Linked DNA regions of Homo sapiens: region 2 is linked to region 1. Evidence: promoter capture Hi-C in 16 types of primary human blood cells and fetal thymus (Javierre and others, 2016). All regions are on one chromosome and are shown on one strand. The core of a region is centred on a gene start or on the middle of the fragment in contact, and the rest is flanking DNA. Distances in the headings are between cores, read along the strand shown.

Region 1 (5,953 bases), core at 3,454-5,953:
GGACCATCAGGATTGATGTTCAGCAGCCTGCGTGGTGTCTCCACTCCACTCCACTCAATGCAGCAGGTCCAAGCTGAGCTACTGATGTCTCCCAGAAACTTGCCCATGACCTTCCCCATCTCAGGTCACAGCGACCAGCACTTCTTGTTTCTCAGGCCCAGCCTGTGGGAGACATTCTTAAGCCCCCTTTATTTCTCTCCCCCTACAAACAATCCACGAATTGCAACAACCCTCTCATGTCTGCTTTCCGAATACTCCCAAAAATTCAACACTTCTCACTACCTCCACCGCTGTCCCCTGAGCCAGCATCGTCTCCCATATGGATTACTGCATGGCACCAGTGATCCTTCTAAGTTATCATCACCGCCATGTTCAAACCATGCAGTGGCTCCCATTTCATTCAGAGTCAAAGCCCTGCTCTTAAAGGCCCTGCATGATCAGGCCCCTGTATCTCTCTGTCCTCATCTCCTGCCTTCTTGCCATCACCTCCCACGCTGTCCTCCTAGCCTTTCCTTGGACACCAGGGACACCAGGTCATGCTCCTTCCTGAGGGCCTTGGTACGAGCTGCTCTGTCTGCTTGGACAGTGCTTCCTCCAGGTTCTATCTTGGTTCGCTTGCATGGAGAACTCCCACTGTGTTCCGATCTTTGTTCAGCTAATGTCTTTCCGGGGAGACCGCCTCTCTGCAGACCCCTCCCCACCACATTCCCAGTCCTCCTTCCCTTATTACTTTTTTTTTTTTTTTTTTTTGAGATGGAGTCTCACTCTGTTGCCCGGGCTGGAGTGCAGTGGAATGATCTTGGCTCACTGCAACCTCCACTTTCAGGGTTCAAGCAATTTCTGGCTAATTTTTGTATTTTTAGTAGAGACGGGGTTTCACCATGTTGGCCAGACTGGTCTTGAACACCTGATCTCAAATGATCTGCCTGTCTCAGCCTCTCAAAGTGCTGGGATTACAGGCGTGAGTCACTGGGCCTGGCTCCCTTATTACTTCTTAAATTTTTGCAATGGAGTTTACTACCTTTGAATATACTCTACAGTTTACTTATTCATTCTGTTAAGTTTTATTGTCTTTCTTCCCTAGCTAGAACAGAAATTTCAAAGAGAAGAGATCTTTGTTCTGTCCACTGATACATCCCAAGCATGTGAAACAGTGTTCAGTATGTTGTTTATGGTCATTAAAATTTGTCATTTACTTTTTAATAAATACAATGCTGCAGAATTAGATCTTTGGCTATTAGGCCTTCAAAGGCTGAGCCTACAAAATGATAGTTAGGCTTGGTAAGGCCAAAGATCAAGTTCTGTGCATCCTTATCGGATGTGCACAGGCCCCTTCCAGTCCCACTCACATATCTTTGGGGCTGAAAAGCTTTGTCTACTTCCTTTATCTTAAATCTGCCTTCTCTTTTCTTTTTCCTAGGCCAAATCTCCATTCCAGGACTTTCTATTTTGTTTTGGCTAGGGTTGAAATGGCCCTCATTTATTCCCAGGAATTCTCCTGTGCTCTGAATTTCTTTGTTCAAGACCCCTGGCAACTTGACATCATAACTGGACTTTGCTTCTCCTGAGGGGAGGGTGGATGGGGGTTGCTGGACAGAGGTGTCTGTCCATAAGGAGGAGGTGGGGAGGAGAGGGTTATATCTTGGTCCAGGGGCCCAAGTGACTGTACTATCGTAGAAGCCACATTTTTCATCTTATTCTCATGACTAAAAGAAATTTTGCCAATGTTTTCCTAAAATTCAGATATCCTGTGTTTAAAGCATTAGCAGAGTGCCCTCAAAAATGAGTTACGTGAATGAATAACTGATCTGTAAACCTGTTACCTATTAAAAATAAAAAGTGAAACAGCAAATGAGACTAGTTTGACATGATCGCTTTTCCCACGTGACTTCACTGTACTGATTTTGAGCGAGTGTGGTTTTTATTCTCCTGTGTGTGCATTTTGTATGTGTTTCGGTTTCCCGCTGATTATCTGTGATACAGGAATTTTCAAGGAAGGAACTGTGCCCTCTGGGTCTGTTGGAGCTCTGACTTAGAGCAATGGAAATGGCACACCAACAAGATTTAACTTTTTTAAAAAGCATTTCTTGTATTTTCTAAACCCTGGACACTAGAAAGAAGGCCTGGGAAGAGGATGATTCCTGTGTACCAGGGATTCATTACCAAGCCAAGCACCTTGGCAGACCACTTTTTTACCCCACTCTTATGCCAGCTCATTGTAACTGTAGCTTTTGTTCCCAGGGATTTGAGTATTTTCACTGTCTGCTTTGGGTTAAGATCACTAAACATTTTGGAAAGGAGACACTGAAGGAGTATCTTGCTAATTTTTTTTTTTTTTTTTTTTTGAGACGGAGTCTCGCTCTGTCGCCCAAGCTGGAGTGCAGTGGCACGATCTCGGCTCACTGCAAGCTCTGCCTCCTGGGTTCACGCCATTCTCCTGCCTCAGCCTCTTGAGTAGCTGGGACTACAGGCGCCCGCCACTACGCCCGGCTAATTTTTGTATTTTTAGTAGAGATGGGGTTTCACCGTGTTAGCCAGGATGGTCTCGATCTCCTGACCTCGTGATCTGCCCCCCTCGGCCTCCCAAAGTGCTGGGATTCAGGCTTGAGCCACCGCACCCGGCCTAATGTTTTAAAAAACAAAAGTCTCAGGCTGGAAATGGTGACTCACGCCTGTAATCCCAGCCCTTTGGGAGGCCGAGGCAGGTGGATCACCTGAGGTCAAGAGTTTGAGATCTGCCTGGGCAACATGGTGAAACCCCGTCTCTACTAAAAATACAAAAATTAGCCGGGGAAGGTGGTGGGTGCCTGCAGTCCCACCTATTCGGGAGACTGAGGCAGGAGAATAGCTTGCATCCCGGGAGGCATTGCAGTGAGCTGAGATTGCACCACTGCACTCCAGCCTGGGTAACAGAGTGAGACTCTGTCTCAAAAAAAAAAAAAAAAGTCTCAGCCTATGAGCAAGACGCATCTCGGGTTAGTGCTAACTTTGTAGCATTCTGTGGTATCATTAAGCCCAGATAAAGTAAAATTGTTCCTAGACTGTGAGCAGGGTGTGTCCCTAGTTCTGAACATCCCACAAGGTTAAGGGGAAATTTTTTTGAAAACACTCAGTTATGTATATTTTTCTCGCACAAATAAAAACGAAGGATACAAGGGTGGGCCAAGGAGTTCACGGTTTTCACAACCCATGTTAAGTTTTTGCTAACGTTTGAAGAAAAATGGAGATGCTTGTATTGCTTAAACCATTTGAGAATTCCCTTATATTTGATAGATTCTGCCACTGTTCAACGTGACCAGAAGTGAGAGGATGAATGTGGGGTGCATGTCTTTCGGATGGTCCCCTGCAGGCAAAGGGGCTAGCCTTTGACAATTTCTCCACACGCTTCGGGGCTAGCTGGTATATTCCAATTAAACCAACATGTTTCCATCACAGACTTCATAGCCATCAAGCAATCATAGCCTTACCCAATGGAGAAAAGGAGCGGGCTTGGAGCGCGTCCACGGGAGTGGGCCTCCCTCTGCGCGCCTCTGGGAATGTTTGCGGTGCTTAAGTCAGACCCGGATTGCTCCAAGCCCAGCTTATCCTCCCCAGTTCTGCCAGGGTTTTTTTCCTCTTGTTTGTTCGTTTGTTTTTGCCTCTCTTTGATTTAACTTTTGCTCCTTGACTAAATATGTGCTTAACGCTAGACAAAGGACACTTCATACCCAAGTCTGTGTCTTTGTTCCAAGATCTGCAATTTCATTTGGTTCCTGTCGGCTTTACAAGTTCAAAACTATGCCCCCGTTTAGGAAATGAATTCAAAGCATGCGGCAAGGGAGACATTCGACAAACCCGGATGCTCTGGAAAACGTTGCCCTTCCTCGAGTTTCTTTCAGTAAAATCTGAATTTTGTTCCCGGGAGGAGTTGGGTTTGTGATTGCTACAGTGTAAGTTGCACCGAAATACTACATCATGTTCTTTGGGACATACATTCTGTTTCAGAATAAGAATGATATTCTTCCTTTCCTAAAATGTGAGAGTTTTATATGGACCTTTTTAAAATAAAAAATTGGAAGCCCTTGGAGTCAAGGCCAGAGTAAGACTCGCAGAAACCAAAGACAGAAAATATTTGGAACCCCCCCTCCTCAGACATGAACCACACTGAAATGTGTCCAGATACAATTCTTCAAAATCCTGGCTTTTCACAGGATGATTTGTTATTGAAAAAGTTGTTTGCTTCAGAATCTGAATTGTTTTAAAAGATTCTGTTGGTTGCCCCTGCTTTGCGGACGCCTTTTGTACGTTCTTCCTGATGTAGCGCTGCGAGGGGCGACTTTACCTCGGCGTTTGACAGGTACGCAGCATTCCCGCACCCGCCTGCGCCTCGCGAGCAGAAAGACGGCGGACTCTGCACCGCTCCACGACACTGGGGACCCGCCCCGGCCAGACCCGTCCCCTACCGAGACCTTGTCCCCGCCCCGCCCCCGGCCGGGGCCCCGCCCCGCCAGCCCCGCCCCCGCCAGCCCCCTCTCCTACCGAGACCTCGTCCCCGCCCACCAGCCCCGCCCCGCCCCCCCCCCGACAGAGGCCCCGCCCCGGCCCCGGCCAGCCCCGCCCCCGCTTGCGCGAGGCCTAGGGCTGCAGGCGCGGAGCCGCGAGCCCCAGCCAATGAGCGCCGGCGGGCCGGTTGCCCAGGCGACCAGTGCGCGGCTCCGCCCCCCGCGGCGAGGCTCCCGCGCGCGGCTGAGTGCGGACTGGAGTGGGAACCCGGGTCCCCGCGCTTAGAGAACACGCGATGACCACGTGGAGCCTCCGGCGGAGGCCGGCCCGCACGCTGGGACTCCTGCTGCTGGTCGTCTTGGGCTTCCTGGTGCTCCGCAGGTGAGAGAGAGCTTCGCGCAGCACCTGCCGGACCCCACATTCCCCAGCCCTCCGCACCTCGGGTTCTCTCCTCCCGCGACCCGCGAATCCCGAGTTCCCGGGGGGAGCAGCCCCAGCTGCTTCTTTCTGGGAGCTCCCCAATACCCCCGAGTTCCCCTGCGGCTGCAGGCACTCTACTCCTGCCGCGCGATCCAGGCCTCTGGGCGACACCCGGCGTGCCCTCGGGAGCCGGCGTCTGTGCCCCGAGCCGCCCACCCCGCCGCGCCTGTGACGCCGGGCTCTGCCCCCCGTGGACGCCCGCAGCCCTCCAGCCGTCAGAGCCCTCTCAGACGCACCCCATCGCGGCCCCGTCCCCACTGCTCCGCGGAGAGCTCCCTCTGCCCTTCCCCCAGGCCCCCCTTTTCCTCCCAAGCCTCTGGGAGGCGCCTTATTCCGCAGAGGCCGGCGCTTCAGCCTGGCAGGTATGGTCTAGCCAGCTGGCCTGGCAGGGTCGTAAGAACAGTGTCCGTGGGCCTCCAAGATCCCGGGCCATGATTTATTTGCACAGTAGGACTGATAGGTCGTCTCTCTCCACTTTCCCACCATTCACCTGTTACCAGCTCACCCTTTCCTCTCCCCCTTTTCCAAATGTTGTTTATGGCAAAGGAGTGGCTTCAGTGATACTGTGATTTACCCACAGCCTGTGAAAAAGTTTTCTGGGTGCCCTAGCCCAGCATTTTTCTAAACTGTGCTTATTTTAAGGATTCTACAGCCCTGACCCTATCTTTCAGGTCAGCACTTTCCATATTCAAAACCTCCAGTGGGAAGCCGACCGGCAGTATCGAATGAACTGAACGGTTGGAAGTGGTGGCAGGCCCTACGCCGCTCGGCTTTGTCATTTGCTTCTTTTTTACTTAGAGAAACTAAGTTCTTAGTTTCTCTGCACTTCCCCTGGGAGACAGGGAAGTTTTTGATGGAGATAAATATCTGGAAGTCCTTTGTGGCCAGAAGAACACACTGACAAACTCTATGTTTACACCTTGTCAAGACTGGATTCTTGTTTCTGAGATAGTGGGGACGTCATGATATTGTTTGGGAGAAGGACGGATTT
Region 2 (6,232 bases), core at 1,207-3,706, 730 kb after region 1:
GCTACATTAGTTCAAGAGTAAAGACTAAATTAGATCAATTCCCCCTTGCCTCAGAAAATCCTAAAGCCAAACCTGAAATATGATAAACTGATTCACCAGTAAAGTAATGACCTTTAAAGACAAAACTCTTTGAAGGAAGAAAACAAAATCCAGACCTGCAGAATATACATTCTTTTTACATGCATATGGAATGTTCATCAAGTAAACTATATGACGGGTTATAAAACCATTCTCAGCATATTTAAAATGAATAAAATCATAAAGCATGTTCTCTGTCCATAAGAGAAATTAATTACAAATCAATAGCAAAACTGTATTTGGGAAATCACCTGTATATTTGGAAATTAAACAACCCACATAACTTAAAGACCAAACAAAAAGATTAAAATTTTAAAGTGTATTTGAAATGAACAAAAATGAAAAGGCAACTTCCCAAAATATGTAAGGTGCAATTAAAACAGTGATTATAAAGAAAATGTATAGCTCCAAACCCTCATATTAGAAAAACAAGATATGTTTAGAAACAATAATCCAAATGTTCACTTTTAATACCTAGAACATGAAGAAAAAATTATACCTAAGGTAAGCAGAAGGACGGATGTAATAATACTAGGATTGAAAATCCATAAAATAGAAGATGAACAAATAGTAGAATGTTTATTAAGTAGTTCTTTGAAAAGATTAAAAATCCTGATAAATCTTGGTTAAATTGCTCAAGGAAAAAAAGAAAATATAAATTACCAACACTAATAATGAAAGAAGAATCATTACTATATCCTTCAGACGTTAAAACGTTAACAAGAAAATATTTTGGACAAGTTTATACAAATAAATTCAACCTTGTAGTTGAAATAGACCACTCCCTTAAAAAATCAAAACCAAAAACAGTTTACCCAAACTGAAAAATGGTAAATTAGAAATTATGTATTGCCCTACATATACAGCAAAGGAACTGAGTTTGTTTCAAAAGAAAAAGGAATCTTCCTAGAGAGAAATCTTCATTTAGCTCAAAGAGCATATGTGTGTGCCAGTGCTGTGGTGTATGTGAGTGCTGGGTGTGTGCATGCACACGTGTGAGTATTGTGTGTGACTACTACGTATGTGCATGCACACGTGTGAGTACTGTGTGTGCATGTGAGTACAGTGTGTGGGCATGCACACTTGTGAGTATTGTGTGTGAGAATACTGTGTGTGCAGGCACACGTGAGTACTGTGTGTGCAGGCACACATGTGAGTACTGTGTGTGCATCTGAGTAGTGTGTGTGTACTTTGTGTGTGTGTGCGTGTGTCTTTGTGTTTGAGCCTATGTGTGGATTCATTGCTGTGTATGTCTTTTCTTTCAACAATTGCACATGTTCAATGATCCAGCACAGGAGCATTTTCTCATATGCTCAATGCTGCACACATTGGGTACTGTACTATTGTGTTGCTCTAAAGGATTACCTGGGGCTGGGTAATTCAGAAATTAAAGAGGTTTATTTGGCTCACAGATTTGCAGGGTATTGAGGTGGGGGAGCACAAGTTTAATTATCATCCACTGATATTCTCTGAGCTATACGAGAAGCATGGCATCAGCATCTGCTTCTGGTGAGGCCCTCAGGGAGCTTCCACTCCTGGTGTAAGGGGAAGTGGAACTGGCTTCACATGGGGAGTTAGAAGGAAAGAGAGAGTGGGGAGGGAGGTGCCAAGCTCTTTATAACAATCAGTTCTCCTGGAACTCACTCATTATTGCAAAGGAGGCACCAAGCTAATCATGAGAGATCCACCCCCATGGCCCAACACCTCTCACCAGGTCCCACTTCCAACATTGTGGATCACATTTCGAGATGAGTTTTGGAGGAGACCAATATTTAAACTCTGTCACACAGTAATAAGAAGAAGACTAAGAATTATAAGTAAATAATTGATGCTGTTTCAGGTTTCTCTGGGAGAAGAAAAGAAGGTACTATTTCTGAAGAGAATATACTTTGAGAAATGAAGTATAAGATGCATATTTTCAAACCAATTTATCAAGTTTCCATTTTAAGCCTTCACATGTGGCACACGTGAATCATTCACTGTTTTAGATGGCCACTGGTAAAGAGGTTTATGGATATGTTTTAATGGCATCACAGCGTCACTCTGATGTTGGACACGTGGATTGGACACACTGTGAGTCTGTGGGAGCTGCTTCATGCCTATGGAAATTCTCAAGGTAACTTAGCATTTTTGCAGTTGTATCACTCATCGTTGCCCTCCGAGCACCACATTCACAATGCCTATGATTTCTTCTCCTAAATTTACCATCCATCAGCCAGTAGACACCTCAACATTACATGAATAGCCAGTTTTAATTTACTCTGGTGGGTCATTGCAATTTTTTTAAGTTGTTTCAAGAATCTGTAAATACAAATCATCATTATTAACCTGCAGGAGTTTTGTGTTTTCTGTTTTCTCTTTATCTTTTTAGGGTATCTTTGGAAAGCCAAGCACAGCTTGTTTAGGAAAGCAGATTTTTTTTTTTTTTTGAGATGGAATCTCGCTCTGGCACTCAGGCTGGAGTGCAGTGGCGCAATCTCAGCTCACTGCAACCTCCGCCTCCTGGGTTCAAGCAATTCTCCTGCCTCAGCCTCCTGAGTAGCTGGGATTACCAGTGTGCACCACCATGCCTGGCTAATTTTTGTATTTTTAGTAGAGATAGGCTTTCACTATGTTGGCCAGTCTGGTCTACAACTCCTGACCTCAGGTGATCTGCCCACCTCGGCCTCGCAAAGTGCTGGGATCACAGGCGTGAGCCACTGCAATCTGCCCCTGAGAACGGATTTTGCAGGCTATTGAGGTGGAGTAGCACAATTTTCATCTCAGCTCCTCCCTCTCTGAGGTTGGAAACAGCTGAGTGCCTTCTGTCTCTCTCTCAAGCCTCTGTTCCTCACCCCTGCCCTGGCAGCCTTTGCTCAGCTCCTAAAGCAATGGAGAGGTCTTTCTAACAGCAGTGAGTTTATTGCCCAACTGTGTGGGGTTCTGGGGGACGGGATTGGCAGATGAAGGAGAGAGGGCTCAGTCCCTGATCTGCAGACCTGTATTTTTCTTCCGATCAACACATTTCTTTTTATTATTATTATTATTATACTTTAAATTTTAGGGTACATGTGCACAACGTGCAGGTTTGTTACACATGTATACCTGTGCCATGTTGGTGTGCTGCACCCATTAACTCGTCACTTAACATTAGGTATATCTCCTAATGCTAACCCTCCCCGCTTCCCCCACCTCACAACAGGCCCTAGTGTGTGATGTTCCCCTTCCTGTGTCCGTGTGTTCTCATTGTTCAACTCCCACCTATAAGTGAGAACATGTGGTGTTTGGTTTTTTGTCCTTGTGATAGTTCACTGAGAATGATGGTTTCCAGCTTTATCCATGTCCCTACAAAGGACATGAACTCATCTTTTTTTATGGCTGCATAGTATTCCATGGTGTATATGTGCCACATTTTCTTAATCCAGTCTATCAGTGATGGATATTTGGGTTGGTTCCAAGTCTTTGCTATTGTTAATAGTGCCGCAATAAACATACGTGTGCATGTGTCTTTATAGCAGCATGTTTTATAATCCTTTGGGTACATACCCAGTAATGGGATGGCTGGGTCAAATGGTATTTCTAGTTCTAGATCCCTGAGGAATCACCACGCTGACTTCCACAATGGTTGAACTAGTTTACCGTCCCACCAACAGTGCAAAAGTGTTCCTATTTCTCCACATCCTCTCCAGCACCTGTTGTTTCCTGACTTTTTAATGATCACCATTCTAACTGGTGTGAGATGGCATCTCACTGTGGTTGTGATTTGCATTTCTCTGATGGCCAGTGATGATGAGCATTTTTTCATGTGTCTTTTGGCTGCATAAATGTCTTCTTTTGAGAAGTGTCTGTTCATATCCTTCGCGCACTTTTTGACGGGGTTGTTTGTTTTTTTCTTGTAAATTTGTTTGAGTTCATTGTAGACAGGAGGACTAAGAAGCAGCCTGAAAGATGAATTCCTGTGGGGAGGGTGAGGAGGCTGGGGATACACGGGCAGAGGCAAGGATCTGGAGGAAGCAGAAGTCAGATGTCACCTCCGTGAGCTTCACCAGGGCCCTGGAGTGCTCTCAGAAATTTTGTTCAGACTGGGCAGGAAGTGTCGGTCATCCCATCAGACCTCCTTTGAGTTTCTCTGCACAGAGTCAGGCCCACTGAGGAGGCAAGGAGAAGTCTATGGGTTCCTTATGCCCTGGAGCTCTGTAAGGAAAACGTGAGGACAGGGTGTCCTTTCATCACATAAGGCTAAACATCTTATGGAATATTATACATTCCAAGCTGAGAATACCAGTTAAGTTTCTTCATTTGAAGGTGGGAGAAGGCTTTGGAGAGATAAAGAGGCACCGACAGAAGCAAACATTCAGAGACCCAGGCTCATAAAAGGACAAGTGGCCCCAGGAATCTGGGTCTGAGCAGCCAATGACAGTGTCTTTGAGGGGTTGTCATAGTCAGAACACATAAATCTCAACCATTTCAAGCTCAAGATTTGTGGATAAGGAAATCTGTTTAGCCAGAGTTGCTCATCATTTGACTGAAAGAGGGAAGGTTCCTTAGTTGTTCCTTCAAAATCCTGGAGGATAGTGAAGGTTCTTGATGGTTCTTTACCCAACAGAAAATCAGGAGCCTTTTTGGCAGGTTACACATTGAAAGTGGGGCTGAGCCAGCAACACCTGCTTCTGGGTACCCCGGGGCACTGTCCTCCTTGATTGTCTTGTTGCCTGCAGCCAGCCGTCAAGCCTGACCACAGTTAGAGGCTCAAGAGTTGGAGGGGAGCTCCAAGTTTATCAAGAGCAGGCCGTGGGACCAAGTTTTGCTTGTTCAGTTGTTTGTTTGCATGTTTATCTCAATTTACAATCGATCGTAGACTGTAAAATGTCATAATAATGAAAAACAAAGATAAGACAAACAAGGAAGAGTAATTAGAAAAAAGTAAAACCAAAATAAATTTAAATGTAAAGAAATAATTGAAAAACAAAAGATAATAAAAGCAAAAAAAATCCCTGATTAGTTGGAGGTAGCAGCAATGTCAAATTGCTGTAAAGGTTCCTCAAAGCTTATCCCATCTTCTGTATGTATCTGGTCTAAGGATGATAACATCACTGATCTTGGCTGCCAGTTCTCAACTTTACACATTAGGGTGACCTGGAGAGATCTTCAAAGTGTTAATATATGGGGCGCCTCAAATATTTCAATTTAATTAGTCTGTTGTGAGACCTGTGAATTACCATTTTTAAAAACTCTTTAAGTAATCACAATGAGCAGCAGAGTGAAAAGCCACTGATCCAGACTGATGTTTTTTAACCTGCATAAGTGTGAGAATCACCATGGAAATTTATAAACGTACGTGCGCACAGCTCCCACTCAAATTTTACAAAATTCCAATTTCTGGTGGTGGTTCCAGGACAGTGGTGCATTTACAAAACACCACAAGGGATTCTAAAGGATACTCCTAGATTAGAGCCAGAAATTCAGTCCAAATACCTTATTTTACTAATAAGGAAACAGACTCTGAAAGGTGAAATGTCAAACTTGATCATTAGCAAATCTAGTTATCTTTTGAGAAAGAGAGGCATATTGAAGTTTTTAATAAACTTTAGCCAACTGTATCAGATCCTCTGAGGGTGAGGAAAGATAGCACATGCAGCCTTAAGCTGCCCTAATGAGGAGCCTGGAGACACAGCTTGCTGCAGCTACAGCAACTGAGCCGCTCTGTCTGTCGGTTTTGTTTGGTGAGTTGAATTGAAGCTAGTTTTTAATGAACTTTAGTTGTTGAATTTGTGCAGATCTAAAGGGTAAGGAAAGGAAAAGCAAATAGGTTCATTTAAAAAATGTTGTGCCCATGTTGTTTATAGCAAGAGTAATACCCAATTCACAACAAAATTAGATGGTTTTTAATGTTGTGATCCACGAGACTGCACCTCAATGATGAGATGTGTTGTGTGTAGAGTCAGGCAAGAGTGGAGGCAGGCAGGTTGCATCTGAGCAAACTCAGAACATTTGGGCTCCATGGGGAACACACACGGAGGAGGCCTGGACACTTCTGCTCCCAGGGATGTCCTGGATTTACGGAGAGGGAGGTTTGTGGCTGCTATGGCTCAGTGGTACCACATGCACTAATCAGCAGTGGGAGTGAAGACAGAAAGCTGAAGAGGTAACAAGCCTTAACCGTATTCATAAATAA

Evidence for each region. Contacts are between HindIII fragments. The CHiCAGO score rates a contact against its expected background, and 5 or more counts as called.
Region 2: a contact is called between a fragment that was not itself captured here and the fragment with the promoter of GLB1L2 in region 1, in 1 of 17 cell types (endothelial precursors). The highest score is 5.3, in endothelial precursors.

The regions. Positions count from the first base shown.
Region 1 is chr11:134,327,285-134,333,237 of GRCh38, forward strand. GLB1L2 (galactosidase beta 1 like 2) reads left to right here and starts at 4,704. Exons shown (of 19, transcript NM_001370461.1): 1 at 4,704-4,863. The coding sequence starts at 4,778. RefSeq lists a silencer at 4,554-4,853. The HindIII fragment of the contact is 5,891 bases long and covers 1,368-5,953 here.
Region 2 is chr11:135,062,075-135,068,306 of GRCh38, forward strand. No RefSeq gene overlaps it. Among named protein-coding and RNA genes, the nearest start is that of LINC02684, 11 kb to the right of the region's middle. The HindIII fragment of the contact is 5,291 bases long and covers 1-5,102 here.